2 separate regions of the Homo sapiens genome follow, and region 2 is linked to region 1. Evidence: promoter capture Hi-C in human tissues and cell types (Jung and others, 2019). All regions are on one chromosome and are shown on one strand. Each heading gives the region's core, a stretch centred on a gene start or on the middle of the fragment in contact. The rest is flanking DNA. Distances are from core to core; before and after follow the strand shown. Region 1 holds the start of RAB31 (RAB31, member RAS oncogene family). Region 2 overlaps NAPG (NSF attachment protein gamma).

Region 1 (6,159 bases), core at 2,396-4,895:
GCCCATGCCTAAAACAACCTATACCTTAAATGCGAAGCATGTCCCCAAGTCCCCACTGAGCACAGTACCAGGCACAAAAAGACCAACCCCTCAGCCTTCCCAGTGAGAGTGATATTTTGTTATGAAGTCTATGTTCTCTATCACCTTATAAGGGAAACCCGACAGAAAGTGATTCTAACAGGCAGAAAGAAGGTGTGGCTGTCAGGGTCTTGGTCATAGCAAGACTTCAGGGAGGTGTCTCATGGCTAAAAAACAGGAAGCTGAATGCCAGCCACACACAAAACTTCACCCAGAAAAGACAGACCTCCCTACGCAAAGCACAAATGAGCCCAAGGTTCCTGTTAAAATGTTGAAAGAGCCTGGGCAACATAGGGAGACCCCATCTCTACAAAAATAATAAAAAGTATTAGCTGGGCTGGGTGGTACACACCTGTGGTCCCAGCTACTTGGCAGGCTGAGGTGGGAGGATCACCTGAGCTTGGGAGGCTGAGGCTGCAGTGAGCCAGGATGGCACCATTGCACTCCAGCCTGGGTGACAGAGTGAGACCCTATCTCAAAAATATACATATATTTTTTAAAGGACTTTTGGACTTAGCACTGACTGATCCACAGGGTCTCTCGAATCAAGAGAATAAACCTAGGCTGATGCAGAAGGATCCACTGAGCCCAGGAGTTGGAGGGTGCAGTGAGCTATGATGGCACCACTGCACTCCAGCCTGGATGACAGAATGTGACCTTGTCTCAAAACAAAAAAGAGGAGAGAGAGAGAGAGAGAAGAGAGTAAACCGAAGACAGTCAAATGGTTTTGATCTCCCTCAATGTTATCCCACCCAGAGAATCAGCCTAATTGGATGAGCAGCTAGAAACACAGCCTGCTGCACACATCTCACCCAGGAAAGAGCCAGCCAAACGAGGGGATGTGGCAAATCTTACTCAGTGTGGACAACAAGGTCATTTGGTCTTTCAAATAAAATGTCCTCTGATTTCAATAAAACTGAAACTTACAGCCACCCTCAAAAAAAAAAAAAGGAAGCCACAAATGTGGTGTGATATGACTGATGTTTCTTTTCTTTTGTTTTCTTTTCTTTGAGATAGAGTCTCACTCTGTCGCCCGGACTGGAGTGCAGTGGCGTGATTTCGGCTCACTGCAACCTCCACCTCCCAGGCTCAAGCGATTCTCCTGCCTCAGCCTCCCGAGTAGCTGGGATTACAAGCATGCGCCGCTACCGCCCAGCTAACTTTTTTTTGTATTTTTAATAGAGACGGGGTTTGACCATGTTGGCCAGGCTGGTCTTGAACTCCTGACCTCAAATGATCCCCCCGCCTCAGCCTCCCAAAGTGCTGGGATGACAGGTGTGAGCCAACGCGACCGGCCACGATTGATGTTTCAAAGCCTCCGTCTGCCCAGAAACCTCTTCTTTCTCTGCTTTGGCATGGTTCTTCCAACTCCAAGTTCAAATTCCTACACACAGAACTGGCAAAGGTAAGGCACTGTCTGCAGGAAGCCACTCAAAGAGTGTGTATCTTTCTTGGAGATAAAAGAAGTAAAGAGATTTCCTCCAGCTTCCTCCTCTCCCAGGTTTGCTAATTGGCACCCTGAACTCATAGATTAGCAGGAAATGGTAACATGTATCTTAAGAGATCATCTGGTGTAGTCCTCTGCCTAAAGGGGGAACATGTTATTATGCCCATTTCATAGATGAGGCCACTGAGTTGCTTTGCTAAAACGACACAGCTCTTTGGTGGGAAAGAACGAGAGCCTAGGTTTCCTGCCTCTTGACACAGGGTTCTTGCCACCTGATCAGTGTCCTGGTAGGAGGACATAGAGACCTGTCCCTAAACACCGAAACTGAAAATAAGGGGTCCTGTGACACGGCAGGGCTTGGACCACCTCAGTAAAAGTCAAGAGAAAAGAGTTGCAGAAAAAAAGGCAAAAATATGTCCTATTTCACCTTTCCCAAGGCCAGTCCTGACAAACACGGCACATCAAGGCTGCCTCTTCATTCCTTGGAACACGACATTCCTTCTAAGTCTCTGAAGGCCTTTCCTGAGGCTGAAATGGCCCCTCAAGAGGGAAGCATGGGATTCCTGGAATTTATGTCTGGAAATATTAGAGGGCCTGGGGAACAGGAAAACCCACTCCTGCCACACAAAAAGGTCAACAGAGAAAGACCAGACTAGATCCTGGCTGTGGCTGAGCAAGTCGGGGGAGGTGGGGATCTGTGCGGATCTGTGCCAGGGGCTAGCAGGGAGGGCAGGGCCTTCCCAGATCCTCTGGAATTCTAAGCCAACCGGACAATCGAGTTAGCGTAAGGGATGGTTTTGGAAGAGGCCGGTGATGGGAGCCGATGATGGGAGCCTGCCGGAGGTTCCACAAGAGCCTAGAGGAAGCCTAGAGACGCTGGCACAATTCAGTCCTCACCGAAATCATTTCCTCTTTCTACAGTTCTTGTACCCCCATCTTGACAGATCAGTTCGCACAAGAATGCGACCCTTTCGCTGCCCTTTTTTAGGAAATGGTTTTCATGAGACCAGCTTTGCCAATGACACGGGCGGGTACACCAGATGCTAATGGCTGCTGAAAACGCCCTTAGAACCGGCTCTTCTTTTAGAAGAAGGAATTCTGGAATGCGGAGTGGGCCCCCGAAAGGAAGCGACCCTACGTTTATCTGAATTCCCAGGGGCGGTTCGCCAGCGGCTCCCTGCGTCCTCGCCGGGTCCCCTGTCTGCAGTCCCCGGGCCGCACGGATTGACTGCTTTTTTGTTTCTGGCTGCTTTAAGGCTTCTTCGGGCGGAGAAAACCCCACTTTAGGGGAGTGATGGTGGGGAGGACTTTCCCAGGCAGCTTCTTTCACCCGCAGCAGGGAAGTTTGCAGGGCGCGCTCCGCACAGGTCACTGCCTCACCTTCCACCCCGGCCGCGCCCTCGGCTTTCACCCCCTTGGCTGGGTTCGCTTTTGGTTTTATTTTTCTGTTTTACGTGAGTAAATCAATTGCCCCCAGGAGGCAAAAGAGCACTCAGCGACTTGGCTGAGCAACTTAAACTTTCTGCCGGAAGGAAACTATCAAAAGCGGAGGAGAAAGCCCTCGGGGCCCCAGACTCGCCGCCACTGCCCCGTCCCCGCTGGGGGTCCCCGCGAGGTCGCCGCGGATCCGGGGACTCGCGGGCCGGGAGGAAAGAGCGGAGTAAGCCCGGGGCAGGCTCGGACCCGGACCCCGGCAGGGTGAGAGCGGGGGCGGACCAGAGGGGCGCACGGACGGCGGGGAGGCGGAGAACAGGCGGGGTGCGGAGAGCGAGGGGCGCGGAGAGCGAGGGGCGCACGGACTAGGGGAGCCAGGGGGACCCGGGGAACCAGGGGGCGCGCGGACGAGGGGGACGGGGGCTACGAGAGGGGTGCGGAGAGCGAGGGGATCACGGGGACTGAGCGCGCAGGGAATAGGGGAGCGAAGGGGCGCGAGAGCGCGGGCCGGGGTCCGCCGGCGGGTGGCGGCCAGGACTCACCCCGAGAAGGCACACTTTGAGCTCCCGTATCGCCATCATGTGCTCGCAGCCAGGCAGTGCCGGGGCTCAGCAGCATCCTCCGGGGCCGCCGCGCCCGCGCCCCGCCGGCGTCTCTCGCCTCTGCCCCTCGCTCGCGCCGCCCGCGGGCGGAACCGCCGCCGCTGCTATTTCTGGGCCGCCGGCCCCGCCGCGGTGGGTCACGTGGCCGCCGGCCGGCTCCTCCCGGGCGCGTCGGGTCCAGCCTCGCCGGCCCCCAGCTCCCAGGAACGCCCCCGGACGGCGTCAGCCACCCGGGACCTGCGGCGTCGCCGGCGGATTGCCTCCGCCCTCGGACCAGCCCCGCGCGGGTCGGCCTCCCCCAGCGCCCTCCGGCATCCGCCCCTCCCGGCCCCGCCTGGCCGCAGGGCCCGGGTGGGTAGGAAGGACTGGACCGGCCCTGTGGAGACCTGGCCCCACTACCAGCGGGTCCCTGAAGATGCCATTCTCATCTGGAAAGCGAATGCTCTCGGCCGAGGCCGTTTGCGTGGCAGCGCGTGGAGGTCTGCGGGGGTCCCATCCTCAAGCGACATTCTGGGTCCCACGCAGAAAAAGTCAGGCCACTGAAGGGGCCGCTGTGAGGACAGGGGTGAGGAGAAGGGGGCTAACTTTTCGGCCTGCCTTTCTCGACGTTCCTAATACCCGAGCTTCCGTTTAACATATGTGTGGCTCTTCAGCTCAGCCAAGTTCATTTTTCTGTATGCAGCTGAAAATGATTCTAGAAGCAAAACTCGCTGTCCGTGTCTGAAACGGGAAACTTGCTTTCTGGAGCAAAAGTCTTTTTCTCAGTAGAGCAAATCCTGCAACTCGTGTGGGCAGAAACCCAGTCCTCAGAGGTACAGGTAGAAACGTGGAGATCCCAGCAGACCCCTGCATCGTTCCTAACTGGGAAATGAGCAGAGTCTGTGGCCGCACACAGTCGGGGAGGCTTGGGTAACTGTGTTCTCTTCTCCATGTATGGCCTAGAGCACCTCATCCACTCGGATGACTTCATTCGTTGCTGCTACAGAAATGTCAGCCTTTTCAATGTAATCTATCTGAACAATTCACTGGCATTTCAGATGGGAAATGTTTTTTTAAAAACTGATTTTTTGAAACTTCATCTCCTATCCCAAACTCTCAGGCCTCTCTCTTAACCTTCCAATTTTAATCAATGGCATTTCCATTCTCCTAGCAGACCACCCACCGTGATCATCTGGCTTTGTTCTTACGGAAGCCAGGTTGAAGCTACCCAGTACCCAAGTAGCCCCATCCAATGGGAAATTCCAAATCAAGGCCTCCAAAGAGATAAGTCCTGGAATACAGGAGTCAAAATGGGCCCCGAAACAGACAATTCACAATTAAATTCCCCAGAAGAGCAGGAAGTTTGCCCTCGAGGTGCAGGCTTGTAGAGATTACTCAAATGGACTAAACTGTACAAAAGGCAGCCATGGACAAGTTACAGGTCCATTGTATCAGTATCCGTCCTTGACTCTGTATCCAAAGCAGAGTCTTCTATGTGGGCAGGGTAAAAAGAGGCTTCCCCAGAATCAAACAGTCCTGATCACAATATCTCCCTGCCCTCAGATTTGCTAATCAGAAAACCACCCCTACACAGTTGCAAAGACACCTCCCCCAAGGCCTTCGCCAGCCCTGAGGGCACCTCCACAGTGAAACATGTCCTTTTGGCTTTCCAGCTTGATTCCCAAAAGCCAGTCAAACCAGGGTGGAAGCCTCCACTGTGTTCTACATCCCGTGCAGTGAGTGGAGCTTTGTGAAGTTGCCTTAGATTGCTAAGGGCAGAACTGTGCCCAGACAGAAATAGGCAAACCGAATTTCTCTTGTGTTCCCTTACTCTTTTTCATGACTGCTCTCATTCTGCTCTCTTCTCCACTAGCCCGGGTGTCTGGGACGCTTGCGTCGTTTCTAGGCTCTCCCAAAAGAGTCTCGTATCCAGCCCTTCCCTCCCTGAGAATCGCCCCAGTCTATTTGTCCTTCTCCCCTCCCCTAGTTCTGTTAAAAATGACCTCATTTGTGTCTCATTCTGATCAGGTCTTGGGCTCTTCTTTACAAAGTGGCAATCCTAGTCTGTCAACTGACTCGTGTTCATGGGTTTATACCCTCTTCCCAGCCAGGTCACCCCTGAGCTTAAACATGGCCTCATGAAAACCAGGTCCCCATGATCACCCTAAGGTAACCTACAAAGCTCTAGCCCTGGAAGGCAGGAAGATGACTGCTGGGAGACATATTTTAAGAGTGACACGTCAGAGGCAGCTCTCGACTTTTTAAAAAAGTGCCATGTTCTCTATTGTTACACTCTATGATTACTGTACTAAGGGCCCATCCTGACTTCTCTGGAATTTTCTGCAAATATGTAGTTCTGGTGTAACTTCAGCAGGGGTAAAAATTCAATGGTACATAACTGACAATTTATCAAATTAAGAAATAGAACATGCAAGTTTTTCTTATAAGAATTTTGTAACGTAAATGGTCATTGTGCTAATTCAGACCTCAACTTCTCTGCTGCTATAAAGTCTCCAACAGAAAAAGCCAGTAATGGTCATAAAACTGATCATGTTTTTTGATTCAGGAAATCCTTTTTTGAACAATAACATACAAAGACGAAAAGTAAACAAAGCTGCC
Region 2 (6,159 bases), core at 2,666-5,165, 830 kb before region 1:
TGGGACACATGTGCAGAATGTGCAGGTTTGTTACATAGGTATACATGTCCCATGGTGGTTTGCTATACCTATCAACCCATCATCTAGGTTTTAAGCCCCGCATGCATTAGGTATTTGTCCTAGTGCTCTCCCTCCCCTTATTCCCCAGCCCCCGACAGGCCCAGGAGTGTGATGTTCCCCTCCCTGTGTCCATGTGTCCTTGTGGTTCAATTCCCACGTATGAGTGAGAACATGCGGTGTTTGGTTTTCTGTTCCTGTGTTTGTTAGTTTGCCAAGAATGATGGCTTCCAGCTTCATCCATGTCCCTGCAAAGGACATGATCTCATTCTTTTTTACAGCTGCATAGTATTCCATGGTGTATATGTACCACATTTTCTTTATCCAGTCTATCACTGATGGGCATTTGGGTTGGTTCCATGTCTTTGCTATTGTAAATGGTGCTACAATAAACATACGTGTTTACTGTATAAACATACGTTTCTATAGAATGATTTATGTTCCTTTGGGCATATGCCCAGTAATGGGATTGCTGGGTCAAATGGTATTTCTGGTTCTAGATCCTTGAGGAATCCCCACACTGTCTTCCACAACGGTTGAACTAATTTACACTCCCACCAACAGTATAAAAACTTTCCTATTTCTCCACAGCCTGGCCAGCATCTATTGTTTCCTGACTTCTTAATCATCACCATTCTGACTGGCGTGAGATCTCATTGTGGTTTTGATTTGCATTTCTCTAATGATCAATGATGATGAGCTGTTTTTCATGTTTCTTGGCTGTATGTCTTCTTTTTCTACAAGGAACTTAAATTTACAAGAAAAAAAAAACCCAATCAAAAAGTGGGCAAAGGATATGAAATACAATTATTTTATCCCTAATTCATGAAAGTAAATGACTCAAATACATTGTATAGCAATAAAGATATTTAAAATGAAATGCTTCACATGATTACTCTCCCAATCAAGCTTCATTAAACCCAATCAAAAAGGTACCAGGTAATTTCTACACAGAGTTCATCATCACTTCACAGACCTTTGGGAAATCTATGAAAATAGAAAAAACCAAAAACCTTGCTCTTTACTGTTTTCTAAGCACTTCTTATTCTTTAAACATTTACCAAGTCCCTACTACATACAAGACCTATGCCAAGGATCACAAACTGGCAGCCCAATGACTCTATCTCACTTCCAAGTGTGTTTTGCTTGATCCATGCAGTATTTTTAAATTAGATACTTTCATGAAAATTGTTTTATGGCTTTCTTCAAAAAAATATCAAAAGCTACGGCATCAGCAGGCTTGCATCCCTGTATGGCAACAGGCTGGGGCTGGGCAGCACTGTCCCGCCACATGAGCATGCACCTCCTGGCGCTTCTCCCCGCTCTTCACTTCCAAATGCCCTCCACGTCCCAGCTGCTCATTCATTTTAGTTATTCCTCTACACCCTGAGTTCATCTGAGTTTGCAACCCTCTTCCATGACTAATAAATTCTGTATCTTACTATTAATCTACACATCTCAGGATCATGCAGTCCTAATGTCTAATATCTCCAAATCAAACATTTTAAAAATAAACTTAAAAAAAAACACCGTTTAAAAGCTAGTTATAAAGTTTACATAAGCAACTTATTTAGTGTTGACTTGCTGTATCTTAAGGTAGGCTCCACACTGACATCTCATGGGTGGTTTACAAATCTGCCTATTCAGTCCCTTGCTAAGTTGACAAATTCATTAGGATACCCTTAACAAAACTGGTCTCATTTTCGCCAACCCCAAAACATAACTTTATTATTTAGCTATGGAAACTAACAATAACACAGACTGAAAGACACTGTATGAAATAAGACTGCTATCATTCACTCAAGCAGAATGAAATGCTAATGCATTTCCAAACCTCAGTGAAAAAATAAAAACAATACTTTTTTTGTTATAAAACCAAAAGTCAATGAAAGAATCCGAGTCTACAATATCTGCTGAAAAATATCTGAATGAACAGGGGAGGTAAACCTAACAAAATCTCTCTCAGACACATTAGTCCTGAGGGTCATTTTGGCTTTTAAAGAATACAACTGAACCTTGAACAGCAGAGATTTAAACTGTGCTGGTCCAATTATACGCAGACTGTCTTGCTCCTCTGCCACCTGAGACAGCAAAACCAACCCCTCTTCTTCCTCCTCCTCCTCTTCCTCCTCCTCAGCCCAAACGTGAAGACTATGATGAGGATGAAGAGCCCTATGATGCTCTACTTCCACTTAAAGAACACTAAATATATTTTCTCTTCCTTACGATTTTCTTAATATTTTCTTTTCTCTAGCTTTATTCTAAGAATACAGTATAAAACATATTCCATACAACATACAACATATGTACTAACTGACTGTTTATATTATTTATAAGACTTCCAGTCAGTAGTAGGGTAGTGGCTCACGCCTATAATCCCAGCACTTTGGGAGGTTGAGGCAGAAGTATCACTTGAGCCCAGGAGTTTGAGCCCAGCCTGGGAAAAACAGCGAGAACCAGTCTCTACCAAAAAAATTAAAAAATTAGCAGGGCATGGTGACATGCACCTATAGTCCCAGCTACTCAGGAGGCTGAGGTGGGAGGATCGCCTGAGCCCAGGAGGTTGAGGCTGCAGTAAGCCATGATTGTGCCACTGCAATCCAGCCTGGGCAACAGAGCAAGATCCTGTCTCAAAAAAAAAAAACAAAAACAGGCTATTAGTAAAGTTTTTGGGGAGTAAAAAGTTATATGTAGAGTTTCAACTGCACAAGGGGTTGGCATCCCAACCCTTGGGTAGTTCAAGGGTCAACTGTATTTCCTCCCCAAATATACCTACCCACTAATTACATATATAATGTGAATCTACAACATAAAAGCATTTGGGAGGATAAAAAAACCACAGGAACTATTCGTCATGAGTTTTACCCAGTAGATAGAGCAAAAAATACATTAGAAGGCAGTAAAAATGGCATCCGAGTCCTATTTGTTGTTTAAAAATTAGCAACTACATCTTCCTGTTTTTGCGTAAAATCAAGTGAGGCTGTGAGTAAGAGGTCCAACCACAATATTGATACTTCTCCATAAAAAATGATGAGCTGCCTACTTGAAAGTTATACCCTCCACCATAAATATGCCTATTTTCAATGGCTGTGTGCCAGTGGAGCAAACAGGATATGAAATCACAGCAGTCATCAAGTGACAGAACCAAAGGTTGATCCAACAAGTTTCTGTGGCTTCCCTTGTGCATATGTCTACAAAATGGCACTCCCCAAGCCTTTCTGGTGAATCAGTGTGAAGGTTTGTATGACAAATTGGTAGAAATTTTAGCCCACAGAATTGTGGACCACGTAGCTCAGGGGTCCTGTGCTCCCAACAGTGTCCAAAGGCATTTAATTTAAATATAAGACAATGCCAGAAAGCATTTTCCTTCATCTGTTTCCCTATCCACTAAGTTAATTTTCTTTCATTCAAAGTAGTGCCTTTCCAACCCTCAAATTAAATAGATACTTGAGCAATGGAAATGATGCCTGAATAATAACTTTTGATGAAGATTCAAGTCTTAGTACAGCTGTTGTAATATAAACTGAGGCTGTGAGAATTAGAGTGTTTGAGCATTTCTTAAACAGGCATGAAGTACACTAAGAATGTAACAGCCACCTGGGAGCTTCCTAATTCTCAGAGGAAAATGAGACATAAGAAGACCAGAGCAGATCCCCAGCTTCTTTGGCCGTAAGAGAAACTCTATGGTTTCAAAGGAACTGTGGTTAATAACCTAACTTGCGGCACCAAATACCAATTCAGTTGCATGTTTGGCCAGAAAAGCTTTATTTCAATGGATATATAATAGTTTATAATAAGGAAGCATCATAATTTATTTAAACACTTTCCTATTATTATTATTACTTTGAGACAGAGTCTCGCTCTGTTGCCCAGGCTGGAGTGCAATGGCACGATCTCGGCTCACTGCAAACTCTGCCTCCTGGGTTCAAGCAATTCTCCTGCCTCAGCCTCCCAAGTAGCTGGGATTACAGGCGCCCGCCACCATGCCCAGCTAATTTTTGTATTTTTAGAAGAGACAGGGTTTCACCATGTTGGCCAGGCTGGTCTCGAACTCCTGATCTCAGGTAATCCACCCACGTTGGCCTCCCAAAGTGCTGGGATTACAGGCATGAGCCACTACATCCAACCTCACTTTCCTATTATTCAAAATTTAGATAATTGGCATTTCTTCAAGAAACAACCTGATGCATAAATCTTTGATCTCTCTCTCTCGATGATAGACTCACAGAATTGAAATTCCTGGGTCAAAGACTATAAAATCTTTTAAACTAAGTATGTTAACAGCTATTACTAACATTCTTTAACTTTTCGGTATTTTTTATTGTCTACAATGAGCATGTGTTCACTAAAAAAATGAGTAAGTTCACATTATAAAAGTCATAGAAATTAAAAACAAAAGCTTTACTAAGGTAAAAGTTCTTAAAAACAAAGCTTTATAATAAATACTTGAAAGTAGCTTTTACCATTTTAGAAAAAAACATTTTTAAAAAAGAAAGACAAATACTTCATTTCAACTGCCAGCTGGCATACTTTGAAAGTCAGCATCATAAAGTAGTATGTTCTGTCTCACCACAGCAGGACATTAATTCCTGGCCTGCTTTTGAGGAGCAGAAGTACAAACAGTGGCACAGGTACATTAGTTGGAATATTCCATGCAGAATGAATTAAAGTAGCAAAAGCTTAAATCTGTGGTTGTTTCTGCTGCCAACTGTTATTCACATAAGTAAAAATCTCTTCTATAACCCATGTATGATAATTTTTTAATATTTATAAAATTTTACTACATTTAGATGTCCTTCTCAAAAGTAGAGAAACTTCCCATAGAGCTCTTTTTATAGCAATACACATCTATCCTGGTTATAGAGCTTAGAACATTAGTGTTCCCAGTTCACTCCAATACATTTTCTCTTAAATTTCACTTTTAACATTCCTTAAGACGTACAGAATGTATTCTATGGGTCCAATTAACGTTACCGTGGACAGAAAATCTTAACTTAGCACCTCTTGCCTTACAGTAAGGAAGCTTTTCAACTTCAACAAAAATTCTTGTTTAACACCTTGTAGTTAATTCATTTTACCTACACAACAATTGTGACATAACATTACTGACCTTCAACATCATTCCAGCTTGCTCATAAGCTCTGCAAAGAGAATATAATTTCTCTGATGAGATCTTAACGAAATAAGGGGTAGAAGAAACTTTCTGGTGAGGAACTACTGGTAAGGAAAGTGACTTCAATTACAATGGGCTCATGCACAACATATCACTTCAGGCTTATATTACCACACAATATAATTTTTTATTCTTTTTTTGTGGGGAATAATGGCTTAGAACATCAGACATTTGAGTTAAAGAGATTTTATTTTGCAGATGCAAAATTAAGTAAGGCTCAGTAAGGTTAAATTAATTTCCATCTGACAAACCTAAACCTAAGTTTTTTTGTTTGTTTGTTTGTTTTTGGGATGGAGCCTTGCTGTGTCGCCCAGGCTGGAGAGCAGAGGCACGATCTCAGCTCACTGCAACCTCCATCTCCCAGGTTCAAGCAAGTCTCCTGCCTCAGCCTCCCCAACAGCTGAGATTACAGGCACGTGCCACCACATCCAGTTAATTTTTGTATTTTTAGTAGAGACGAGGTTTTTCACCAAGTTGGCCAGGCTGGTCTTGAACTCCTGACCTCAAGTGATCCGCCTGCCTCGGCCAACAAATAACTACTCTCCACAAGGCAAGAGAAAGCTTCCTGCTTCATCTCCACAGGCACCATTAACTATCAAACAGAGGAAAAAAGAGATCCTAACTTATTTTTTTCCCATAGGCTACTGAACAAAATGCTCCTAATAAAATATTATGGCAAATTTAATTTAAACTCTTTACATCTTACAGTTAGGAGTAAGTCTTGGTTTTTAAGGTTTAGGTAAAAACTGAAGCAAAGAGAAATGATTATTATTTAAATCAATACAAAATTTATAATTTGGGAAAAAATTACCAACCTACAGAAAAACAGCAACATTTAAAACATAATTTGCAAATACATGAAAACATGAAGAATACTTACTTGGCAGCATGAAAAAGACTGAATGGAAGTAACGAAGTCAAAGTTAAGG

What was found. The method cuts DNA at HindIII sites, captures the fragments that hold promoters and counts their contacts. A contact is called where the count stands out against the background at its distance.
Region 2: a fragment that was not itself captured here is called in contact with the fragment with the promoter of RAB31 in region 1 in 1 of the 25 tissues and cell types used here (heart left ventricle).

What each region holds. Positions count from the first base shown.
Region 1 is chr18:9,705,787-9,711,945 of GRCh38, reverse strand. RAB31 (RAB31, member RAS oncogene family) reads right to left here and starts at 3,645. Exons shown (of 7, transcript NM_006868.4): 1 at 3,502-3,645. The coding sequence starts at 3,540. It overlaps LOC124904244 (a long non-coding RNA gene), which reads left to right and starts at 3,974. Exons shown (of 2, transcript XR_007066281.1): 1 at 3,974-6,159. LOC105371981 (a long non-coding RNA gene) reads right to left here and starts at 3,274. Exons shown (of 2, transcript XR_935131.2): 1 at 1,953-3,274. RefSeq lists silencers at 3,051-3,280, 3,381-3,950. The HindIII fragment of the contact is 12,091 bases long and covers 1-6,159 here.
Region 2 is chr18:10,533,505-10,539,663 of GRCh38, reverse strand. It overlaps NAPG (NSF attachment protein gamma), which reads right to left. Exons shown (of 12, transcript NM_003826.3): 4 at 6,111-6,128; 5 at 5,168-5,198. Among named protein-coding and RNA genes, the nearest start is that of NAPG, 11 kb to the right of the region's middle. The HindIII fragment of the contact is 3,043 bases long and covers 2,394-5,436 here.